3 separate regions of the Homo sapiens genome follow, and all the other regions are linked to region 1. The links are contacts of gene promoters, found by promoter capture Hi-C in human tissues and cell types (Jung and others, 2019). All regions are on one chromosome and are shown on one strand. Each heading gives the region's core, a stretch centred on a gene start or on the middle of the fragment in contact. The rest is flanking DNA. Distances are from core to core; before and after follow the strand shown. Region 1 holds the start of OCSTAMP (osteoclast stimulatory transmembrane protein). Region 2 has its middle 20 kb from the start of ZNF334. Region 3 overlaps SLC13A3 (solute carrier family 13 member 3).

What was found. The method cuts DNA at HindIII sites, captures the fragments that hold promoters and counts their contacts. A contact is called where the count stands out against the background at its distance.
Region 2: a contact is called between a fragment that was not itself captured here and the fragment with the promoter of OCSTAMP in region 1, in 2 of the 25 tissues and cell types used here (dorsolateral prefrontal cortex and thymus).
Region 3: a contact is called between a fragment that was not itself captured here and the fragment with the promoter of OCSTAMP in region 1, in 2 of the 25 tissues and cell types used here (lymphoblastoid cells and thymus).

What each region holds. Positions count from the first base shown.
Region 1 is chr20:46,548,845-46,552,227 of GRCh38, forward strand. OCSTAMP (osteoclast stimulatory transmembrane protein) reads right to left here and starts at 1,810. Exons shown (of 3, transcript NM_080721.3): 1 at 1,673-1,810. The coding sequence starts at 1,716. The HindIII fragment of the contact is 9,290 bases long and covers 1-3,383 here.
Region 2 is chr20:46,492,187-46,495,569 of GRCh38, forward strand. It overlaps a transcript of ZNF334 not described here and the pseudogene ZNF840P. Among named protein-coding and RNA genes, the nearest start is that of ZNF334, 20 kb to the right of the region's middle. The HindIII fragment of the contact is 6,670 bases long and covers 1-3,383 here.
Region 3 is chr20:46,584,412-46,587,794 of GRCh38, forward strand. All of the region lies in intron 8 of SLC13A3 (solute carrier family 13 member 3), which reads right to left. Among named protein-coding and RNA genes, the nearest start is that of OCSTAMP, 35 kb to the left of the region's middle. RefSeq lists an enhancer at 1-197. The HindIII fragment of the contact is 6,883 bases long and covers 1-3,383 here.

The sequences.
Region 1 (3,383 bases), core at 560-3,059:
TGACCGGAGATGGACCAATAGAGCTTTCCTCAGGATTTTGCTGCAACGACAAAAAAACTGCCCTTTGTTGCCTTGAGAGCTAAGCTGGTAGGAAGATGCCTCAAGCCTTGGGGACCACCATGTAGTATGAGTCGGCCTGGGATGAAGGCAACACAAGGAAAACAGTGTTAGGAAACAGACAGAGAGTCCCAGTGGCCTTGTTGGAGGACCTGGATCCAGAAATGCCTGAAGCCGAAATCTATGCCGGACCACACACTAGGAGATGTCTGTTTTTCTACAGGCAGTGTAAGATCAATCTGTCACTTGCAACTCAATGAGTCCTGACTAATACAGAAACCTTTGTCACAGGGCTTCTGGGACAATAAAATGAAATAATCCATGTAAAGAAGTTTACACAGGGTCTGGCACAGAAGAGGGATCCTATAAAACTGCACCACTTGTTACTCTGATGATACTTATGTCAACGATGTAAATGTTTCACTCGAGTCTCCTCTGTGCCCAGGCTCTGTGCTGACCCCTGTGGACACAAAGATGAATTAAGTCCTGGTCCCACTAAAGGAGTTCACAGTCTAATTGAGGAGACTTAAATAGACCATTAGAGTTTAAGTTCATTAACAAAGAATTCTGAGCATAGTATGCCTGGGCCTGGACTGGGGTGGGATAGATGGAGAGTGACCCAGTTTTACCTGGGAGTCAGGAAGGCTCCCTGGAAGAGGTGACATTCCAGCTGGGGGTGGAAGGACAAGTGTCAGTTTGTGGGTGAAGAAGGGAGTTGGACATCCCTGACAGAAGGAACAGCGTGTGCAAAGGTCCTGTGCTCTGACCATCGGGAAATAGGGAGTTGGGAGAACCAGAACAGTGGGAAGCTGAGATGCAGTGAGGCCTGTGGGGCTGGAGTGAAGGTCACAACCTTGAAGCCCTAAAGGCTGAATCATATGCAAATGTGCCTTATTGTGGCCCACTCTGTGTGTGTGTGTGTGTGTGTAAGCTGCCCCCATTTGGAAATAAGGAAGTTTCACATTAAAATCTGGGTTTCCAGCTTTTCTTGAGAGATAAGAAGATCTGGGTTAGAGCTCCCACCTTTGCAACAGGTAGCTGGAGCTGAGTATCCACTACCCACCTTTGACAGGGGAGCAGCCCTGCAGACTGCATCCTGCTGATCAATGAACGGGTCCGTCTGCACACCCAGGTGGCCTTCCACAGGTGCAACCCCTTCCCAGCTCCCGAAGGCATTTGAATTTGGGACTAAACACCCCCTTCTACTATATAATTAATATTTGGAACACAGTAGCTTTTGGAATAATAGCTAATAATAAAAACAATTTTAAGGATTGAAAGCCAGTCCTAAGTCATATTGGATGACAATTCCTGCACGGGGTATTGAAAATGGCAAGGAAACTAGCTGCTGTTTAGTGAGTGCTTCCTCTGAGCCAAGCAGGTGCCAAGTACTAAGCATGTGTTTTCTCATTCAATTCTGGCAACAGTCTTGTAGATGTCATTATTACTTCCATTTCACAGATGGGGAACTGAGGCTCACAGAGAACTGAGGATTTGCCTAAGGTCACATAGCCAAGGAATGGCAGAGCTGAAGATTTGGGTTCATATCCATCACCCCCAATGGCTGACTGTTTTCTCACCTGTAGCCCTCAGTGTCCAAAGTCCCCAGACCTACCCGGTCTTGACAAGTTGCTCAGCTGCTCCTGGGTGGCCTGGCATGCTGTCCAAATGGCAGTGGTTTCAGGCGGGCGGTCGCTGGCAGCTGTGGCAGGTGGAGAGGAAGTGGGGGAATCGCTGGGACTTGGGAATCCCTGCCACTTCTGCTTTTCCACTCTTTAATGAAGCTCTCCTGGCTGCCTTGTCCCGCCCTTTTCGGGGCCCACCTCCCAGAGGGTTGGGCAAGCTGCCTCATCCTCTGCCCACAAGCAAGAGCGGGTGGAAGGTGTGGGAAGAGGAAAAGACAGCCTTTTCCAAGCGATGTCTCTAATCTTGGTAGCAGGAAGGTAGAATTAGCCCCATTTTACAGAGAAGGAAACTGAGGCACAGAGAAACCATACAGCTTCCCTTTCCCTCCCACTCCATAGTTGTGTGCCCCAAGGGGAGCCTGATCCCTGCTCTTGGGACTCACAGGTGATAATCAGACCCCTGCCAAGTACTGGGAGCAGTGGCTCTGGTCTCCTTCCCCAGCCCCCTTCCTGTCTTTAGCCTGACTTGTACCTCGCTTCAAATCTCAGCTCTGTCCCTCCCTAGCTATGAGACCTTGGGCAGGTGACCTCATATCTCTCTGCTGGTTTTCTCCCCTTAAAAAAAGTTTAATGAGGCTGGGCACAGTGGCTCACATCTGTAATCCCAGCACTCTGGGAGGCTGAGGGGGGTGGATCACCTGAGGTCAGGAGTTTGAGATCAGCCTGACCAACATGGTGAAACCCTGTCTCTACTAAAAATACAAAAATTATCTGGTTTGTGGTGGTGCATACCTGTAGTTCCAGATACTCGGGAGGCTGAGGCAGGAGAATCACTTGAACCTAGGAGACAAGGTTGCAGTGAGCTGAGATCACGTCACTGCACTCCAGCCTGGGCACAGAGCGAGACTCCGTCTCAAAAAAAAATAGTTAATGAAAATAACAGTTAACATTTATTGAGCACTTACTATGTATCAGGCATTCTTCTAAACAATTTCTCTTCAAATTCACTGAACACTTACTTTGAACATCCCTTTATGGTAAAGATGTTATTTTCATTCTTCAGCTCAGAAAACTGAGACTCAGAGAGCTACGTCGCCAACCACGCCACTCAGCTATTAATGGTACTGCCGTGATTTCTAACCAGCGGGCTGGCTTCAGGGTATACCAGTTAGCCACTGGGCTCTGCTGCTGTGGAGGGGATAATTCACAGACCTCGTGATTACTTCATAGTACAGCTGGTACTGCAAATAGTAGGTACTCAATAATGTAAATTCCCCACGCACACCCTCTGCAGTTAGTGCCCTGCAGGTCTGCTTTCAGGCTGTCCTGAAAGCCAGTTCCTACCTGGAATGCAGACACCTCTCCAGCATCTCTGTACCCCATCACTCCCAGCAGGCCTCCCCTGAGCCCCCCAGGCTCCCCCTCTGTGGGATGGACCAGTAGGGGCACAGCCACTTTCCCTTATAAGGACATGTTGCCTGGGTCACTCTCAGGCCTGAAGGGGAATGTCCTGCGGCCTGGATAGGGGAAGTGACGTTCTTATAGTTACACAGCGATTGAATGGAATACCTGTGGCCAGAACCCTCAGAGGGCCTAACACACTTCCCAGACAGTGCACCCCTGCAGGATGTTAGGCCAGCTACCAGGTCTGCAAAGAACTAAGTACATGAGGCAGACTAGCAGCAGCAAACTTGTGTACCC
Region 2 (3,383 bases), core at 614-3,113, 57 kb before region 1:
CCACCAACAAATCCATACTGGAAGGAAACCTTTTATTTGCAGTAGTTGTAAAAAAACCTTTGTCCGTCTGTCAGATCTAACACAACATAAAGGAACTCATACAGGAGAGAGACCTTACCAATGTACAACTTGTGAAAAAGCCTTTAAATATCAGTCAAACTTTACTAAACATCAGAAAACCCATTCTATAGGGAGGCCCTTTACATGTAATGAATGTGGAAAGACCTTTCGCCTTAACTGGAAACTTAATCAACATAAAAAAATTCATACTGGAGAGAAACCCTATGAATGTGGTGAATGTGGAAAATGTTTTAACAATAATTCAAATCTTAGTAAACACAAGAAAATCCATACAGGAGAGAAACACTTTGTATGTAATCAATGTGGAAAAGCTTTTAGCTTAAACTCAAAGCTTTCTCGACATCAGATAACTCACAATAAAAAGAAACCCTAAAAAAAGAGGAAGGTGAAGAAGGATATTTAGAGATGACTTACCCTTTGCTAAACTCGAGATCAATGTAGAAAGAATCTTAGTCGAAGCCTAATTCTTCGTGGATTCATGCTGTATGGAGTATCTTGGAAATATAAATATGTAAATGTTGAAGAAATGGAGATGTGATCAGAAATGTACTTTTTTTATTGCACTGACTTGAATCTTTGGCCAAGGCAGGTGGTTCATGAGGTCAAGAGTTCCAGACCAGCCTGGTCAACATAGTGAAACCCCATCTCTCCTAAACATAGAAAAAAAAAAATTAGCAGGGCGTGGTGGTGCACACCTGTAATCCCAGCTACTTGGGAGGCTGAGACAGGAGAATCACTTGAACCCCAGAGGCGGAAGTTGCAGTGAGCTGAGATCGTGCCATTGCACTCCAGCCTGGGTGACAGGGTGAGACTCTGTCTTTAGAAAAAAAAAAAAAAACTGTTAAATGTATTCAACTAAATTTGAAATTGGATAAGGCATTTCCTGTGGTAAGCAGTGATAAGCTAAGAGGCAGCTAGAAGGCTACAGTGAACATTCATTTTGCTGTTTGTCCATAATCTACTTTCACTGGATTAACAAATAGAGGCAGCTATCTAAAGATGCAAACTTTTATAGGCTAGATGATGCAACCCTAATTTAAGCGTAAGTAAGGAAAACAAAAGCCATCTCTTCTGGGTGAATTAGAAGTTTTGGAGAACTTTTGCTAGTAGACAGTGAAAAGCAAAAAGCTGATCATGGATCTGAACTAAAGGGTAAAGAGTTAGGAGGGGTAACATGAGAAATCCAAAGGTCTTGGGTCTGTGGTCAAGATGGTTTCTGCTGTCTTGTCTAAATGGTCGGGCGCAGTGGCTCACGCCTGTAATCCCAGCACTTTGGGAGACTGAGGTGGGTGGATCACTTGAGGTCAAGAGTTTGAGACCAGCCTGGCCAACATGGTGAAACCCTGTCTGTCCCATTAAGAAATAGCTCATTTGAAATAAGTGAAAGAAAATTGAATGAAGAGACTCTTTACAAAAGTGTGGAAAGGGTTGTGGGAAACCAACAAGGGATTTACCATCCCTAGCCCTGAAGGGAAAGCAGGAGCGTGGTGCCTTTGTAGTAAAAACACAAAAATTAGCATGGTATGGTGGCGTGCGCCTTTAATCCCAGCTACTAGGGAGGCTGAGGCATGAGAATCACTTGAACCCAGGAGGCAGAGGTTGCAGTGAGCAGAGATCATGCCACTGCACTCCAGCCTGGGTGACAGAGCGAGACTGTCTCAAAGCCAAAAAATAAGTGGATATAACTAAGACACCCAGCCTCCCTGAATAGTTTGCACCATTCTTATATGTTTCTAGAGAATCAAGAAGAAATGGAAAAATTGCAACAATTCTAGGCTTTAGATTCAGAATATGGAGAACCTATTACTGGGAATATTATGTTATTTGAAATTGATTTCTTGTTGTATGTCTTAAATGCTAAGCTTTCTAGTATATGCTAACACTAGCATGTAATACTGAATACATTTGAGCCTTGTATAGAAGTCGAATTACTTTCCCAAATTTGTTCTCATAAACGTCGGTGGCAACTTGCCTGTGTTTAGCCAAGTGGGATGGGCATAGTTAGGATTGGCCTCAATCCATAGACACTATTCAGTTTCTTCATGCTCTCACCTTTCTTTGCTTTCTCAGATATGACAGGAGCTGCCACAGAGCTCAAGTGTTGTATAATCCCCAGGTGTGCTTCCTTTCCATCTGCCTCATTACTTGTGTGTTGAGGCATCAGTACGTTTATATCTCTAAGGAAAGGTGTATGTGTATATATAGCTCACTTTTTACAAATAACAGACACATCAGTTTTATAGATCTCAAGTTAAATATAAGCCAAAAATGCAACTGAAATAATTTAGCTCAGTACAAAGAAAATATTGTTATGAATATTATAAAAATGGGAGTGGCTATTGGGATAAAGACAAAAATTATACATGGGACCTGTCATCCCTAATTTTGGTCCTTAATATCCTGGGTTAAAGTTAAACAGGAGCCATTTCATATGTTTCAAATACACGAAGACTTTCCAACACAGCTCCTATCAGGTCAAACTGCTAACTCTAAAGTCTAGAGTGAGAAAAGTTTCCTAGGACACACCAGAACAACTTGTTCTGAAAAGCCTCATATCCCAAATTCACCATCACTAAACTCAAAAATTTTTCATTGACATCTAACACTTTCTTCTTTGTATCTCTGCCATATTTCCTAGGCGCTGTCACTAATTCCTAAACCCAATGTCTCCAGTTTTGTAAAAAAGATAAAAGAATAGCCATCATGTAAATGTTAGGCTATTCATAACATTCTCATTGGAAAGTTTCAGCAGAAAGTTTTATATTTTCATTGGGGTTTTAATATTAAAATCACATAACAGTTCTATTGTTTAAGCAAAAATAACAGATGGAGAGAGAAGTTAAATACTTCAATTTAGGCTCAAAATATCATCTGCACACCAATGTAAATGATGCATCTTTTGCATTTAATAATTCCTTATATTTTCATTCTCACATATTTGAGGAGATATAAATCTAACAGAGCGTTTGTGGATTGAATGGAATCCCTCCCTAAAGGTATGTTGAGGTTTTAACTGCCGGTGCTCATTAATGTGACCCTATTTAAAACTAGGATCATTTTGAAGATGTAATCAAGATCAAATCATACTAGATTAGGGTGGGTCCTAAGTTCAATCACTGACTTCATAAGAGGGGACACAAGACAACTGGCTGTTGAATAAATGCTTTAACCCTTTTAAAGATTAAATTATCTCTGAAGATAACTTCCATAGAATGCAAAATTGGAGTCAGCACAGAATATGATCCATGTACCTCATATAAACAATACTAGCCAGTGATTTGATGCAGAGACCTATCTCTTAT
Region 3 (3,383 bases), core at 457-2,956, 35 kb after region 1:
TCCCATTCTGTAGACCCTGGCCTGAAACTCAGATTGTTCTGGCTCCAAGTTCAACAAAGCCTAGAGCTCACTGCTAACCAAAGCTCTTTCCACTCACACATTTGGAAAGGAGAGTATTCAAACAGACAAGAAGTTGGAAGAGATGGTCAATATCACTATCATCAGAGAAATGCAGATCAAAACACTAATGGTATACCATTCATTTGCCAACAGGCAAGACTTGAAAAGGAGAGTAAAACTGGTGAGGGTGTTGGGAACATATGCCCTTAGTGAAAGAATAAACCAGTTTAACCTCCTGGGGCATTTGGCAACATGTTTCCAATTTTACATGTAAATACCCTTTGATCCAGTTATCCTCCTTCTAGGAATTTAACCTTGAGAAACAGTCGTACTTTTGTACACAGATTATGTGCAACGATGTTCATTACTGATAAGAGTAAAAAAAAATTGGAAGATTTTTGATAGACACATGTTTAAAGAAATTGTGTTCCATTCATATTATGAAGTACACTGCATCTGTTTAAAAAAAGATAAAAGATAACGTCAATCTATGTATTGACATAGAAACACAACCAAGACACCCTGTAAATTTTATTTTGAAAGTTTTGATTTGAAGCATTGAACACAATCCAATAAGGAATTGGTTAAATAAATCAAAGTGCTCCCATTCTGTAGAGTACTATGCAGTGTTTTAAAAGAATAAATTTGTGACCTGAGTCCAAGAAAATAAAATTAAAAAAAAAGAATGGAGTAAGTCCAAATGGCAAGTTGTCCATGATCATATTATTATATTTTACAGTCTTTTGTTATATGTATACATATTTGTATGTGTGTATGTATGAAGATATGTGTGCGTATCTGGAATGTCATACACCAAACTGCTCATGGTGATGATCTCTGGGCAGTGGGACATAAAGTGGATAAAGAGCCACTAACTTTTCCTTTTTCAATTCAGCATTGTTTGAATTTTTATGAGTATGCATAACTTTTGAAATTCAATACAAAATTAAAAAGCGGATTACAAATAATATGTTGACGTGATCACATTTCTGTTAAAAAAATCTTCTTTTAATAGGGTTCTAAAAGCCAATTGGCATATGTTTCATTGAGGTATAATTAACATGCAATAAAATGCACCCATTTTAAGGGTATAGTTTAACAAGTCTTGACAAATGTATGCAGTCCGATAACAGCGTGATCACAATGTAGAACAGTTCTCAGATAGGCATTGTTTAAAAGTCAGGAAAGATGTATATCAGAATTAGAGACTGAGATTTAGCTGATCTTCACATTTTCTGTATTGTTGAAATGCTTATAATGCCCATTTTGCATCTGAAAAAAATAAAGCATCTACATTTTAGAAAAATAAAAAAATGGTAAGAGCAACAAGAGCTTCATGGCTTCATGAAATTATATTGTTTCTTGCTTATAACAACCTTCAGGAGATCAGAATTTATGTCACCCATTTTACCAGGGAAGAGGTTGAGGCCCAGAAGGTGAGATATCTGGATTGTGCACTGCCCAGTATGGTAGCCACAAGCCACATGTGGGCTAGTGGGCACTTGAAATGTGGCAAGACCAAACTGACATGTGCTTTAAATGTAAAGCACACACCAGATTTTGATGATTTCACATGAAAAAAAGAATGCAAAATATCTCACTAATAATTTATACATAAAATATATTATTCATATTAGTTTCATCTGTTTTTCACTTTTTTAATATAGCTACCAAAAAATTTAAAATACATATGTGGCTCACATTATATCTCTCTTGGATGGGGCTAACTGAAATAATCAGATTTCACCAAATCCAGCAGATACATCTCTATTTAATCATGTTCCCACTCACACCAGAATTTGACACAGTGCCCACTCACGCTTCTTAAAACACTCCCCTCTCTTGGCTTTTGCTGGTCCATAGCTCTAAGTTTTCCTTCTACCTCACTCACCATCTCTCTGTTTCTCTGGTAAATTCATTTTCCTTTCCCCAGCTCCCAAGTGCTGGGGTTCCTCATGGTCTATACTCTACTTAAACACTTTCCATAGCTGAGCCCATTGATTCCTACGGATTTAACTCCCAAATTTATACAATGACTCCCAGATTTATGTCTGCAACCTAAACATCTCCTCTAAGCTCCAGTCTTGCATATCTAACTGCCTATTGAGCTTGACAAGTCTAAACCAAGTCCAAAATAGAATTATGAATAAGCCATTCCCAGCCCCCTAAAAAATATTCTTCTCCAATTAACCACCATCCATGCAGGTACTCCTTTCATTCACACCCCCCAATCCAACCCAGCACAAGTCCCACATTTAACTTTGAATGATATCTTGACTGCTACATTGCCATTGCTACCACCCTCACTCAAGCCATCCCCCAGACCAGGGGTCAGCAAATGTCTCCTGTAAAAAGCCACACAGTAAGTATTTTGGCTTTGCAGGCCACATGGTGTTTGTCTGGACTCACATTTGACATTGGAGTATGAAAGCAGCCATAGACAATATGTAATTGAATAGGTGTGGCTGTGTGTCAATAAAACTTTATTTGCAGACACTGAAATTTGAATTTCATATAATTTTCGTGTATTACAAGACGTTGTCTTTTGATTTTTCCGCAGCCATTTAAAAAATGTAAAAATCATTCAAAATCAAATGGCGGGCCAGATTTGGCCCAAAAAGACACGGGCCATCTAGATGATGTTATAGCTCCTAACTATTCTCCTCGTCTATATTTTTGCCCCCACTACCCATTTCCTAATGAATATAGCTAACAACTATTGAGTTCTTTTTATGAGCCATTTTAATCACTTGACATGTATTAACTCATTTACCTTTACAACAAGTCAATGAAAAACGTACTAGTATAATATCATTTTACAGATTAGGAAACTGAGGCACAGAGAGGTTGAGTACCTTACAACCCTCCAATGGCTGCCCACTGCTCACAGAAAAAAAACAAACCAAAATGCATAACATGCCCGAAAAGACACTCTGATCTGGCCCTCCCCTACCTTTCCTCACCCGCTTTCCTTCCTTCCCACCAGGCCTCGCTCCCACTGGGCTTTTCTCATTTTCTCAAACATGCTACGTTTGTTCTGACTCAGGCTTCAGTAGACATTCCCAGGGCATCTCCACTGCTTTCATCTGCAGTCTTCCTAAGCTTTGGCTCTTCCCAGAACTGTCCAAAGTCAATGCCCCTGCTCTATTATTTTATAGCATAACCCTCTCAGTCTTTCCTTCATAGCACTCATTGCAATGCAGTTGTTTTGTTGTCTAACTACTTGCTTTTGTCTGTGTCCCAGCATCCAGCATCCAGCTTAGCACATAATAGGTTCTCAATCAATGTTGATTGAATGAATGAACGATTTGCTCAGTCACACA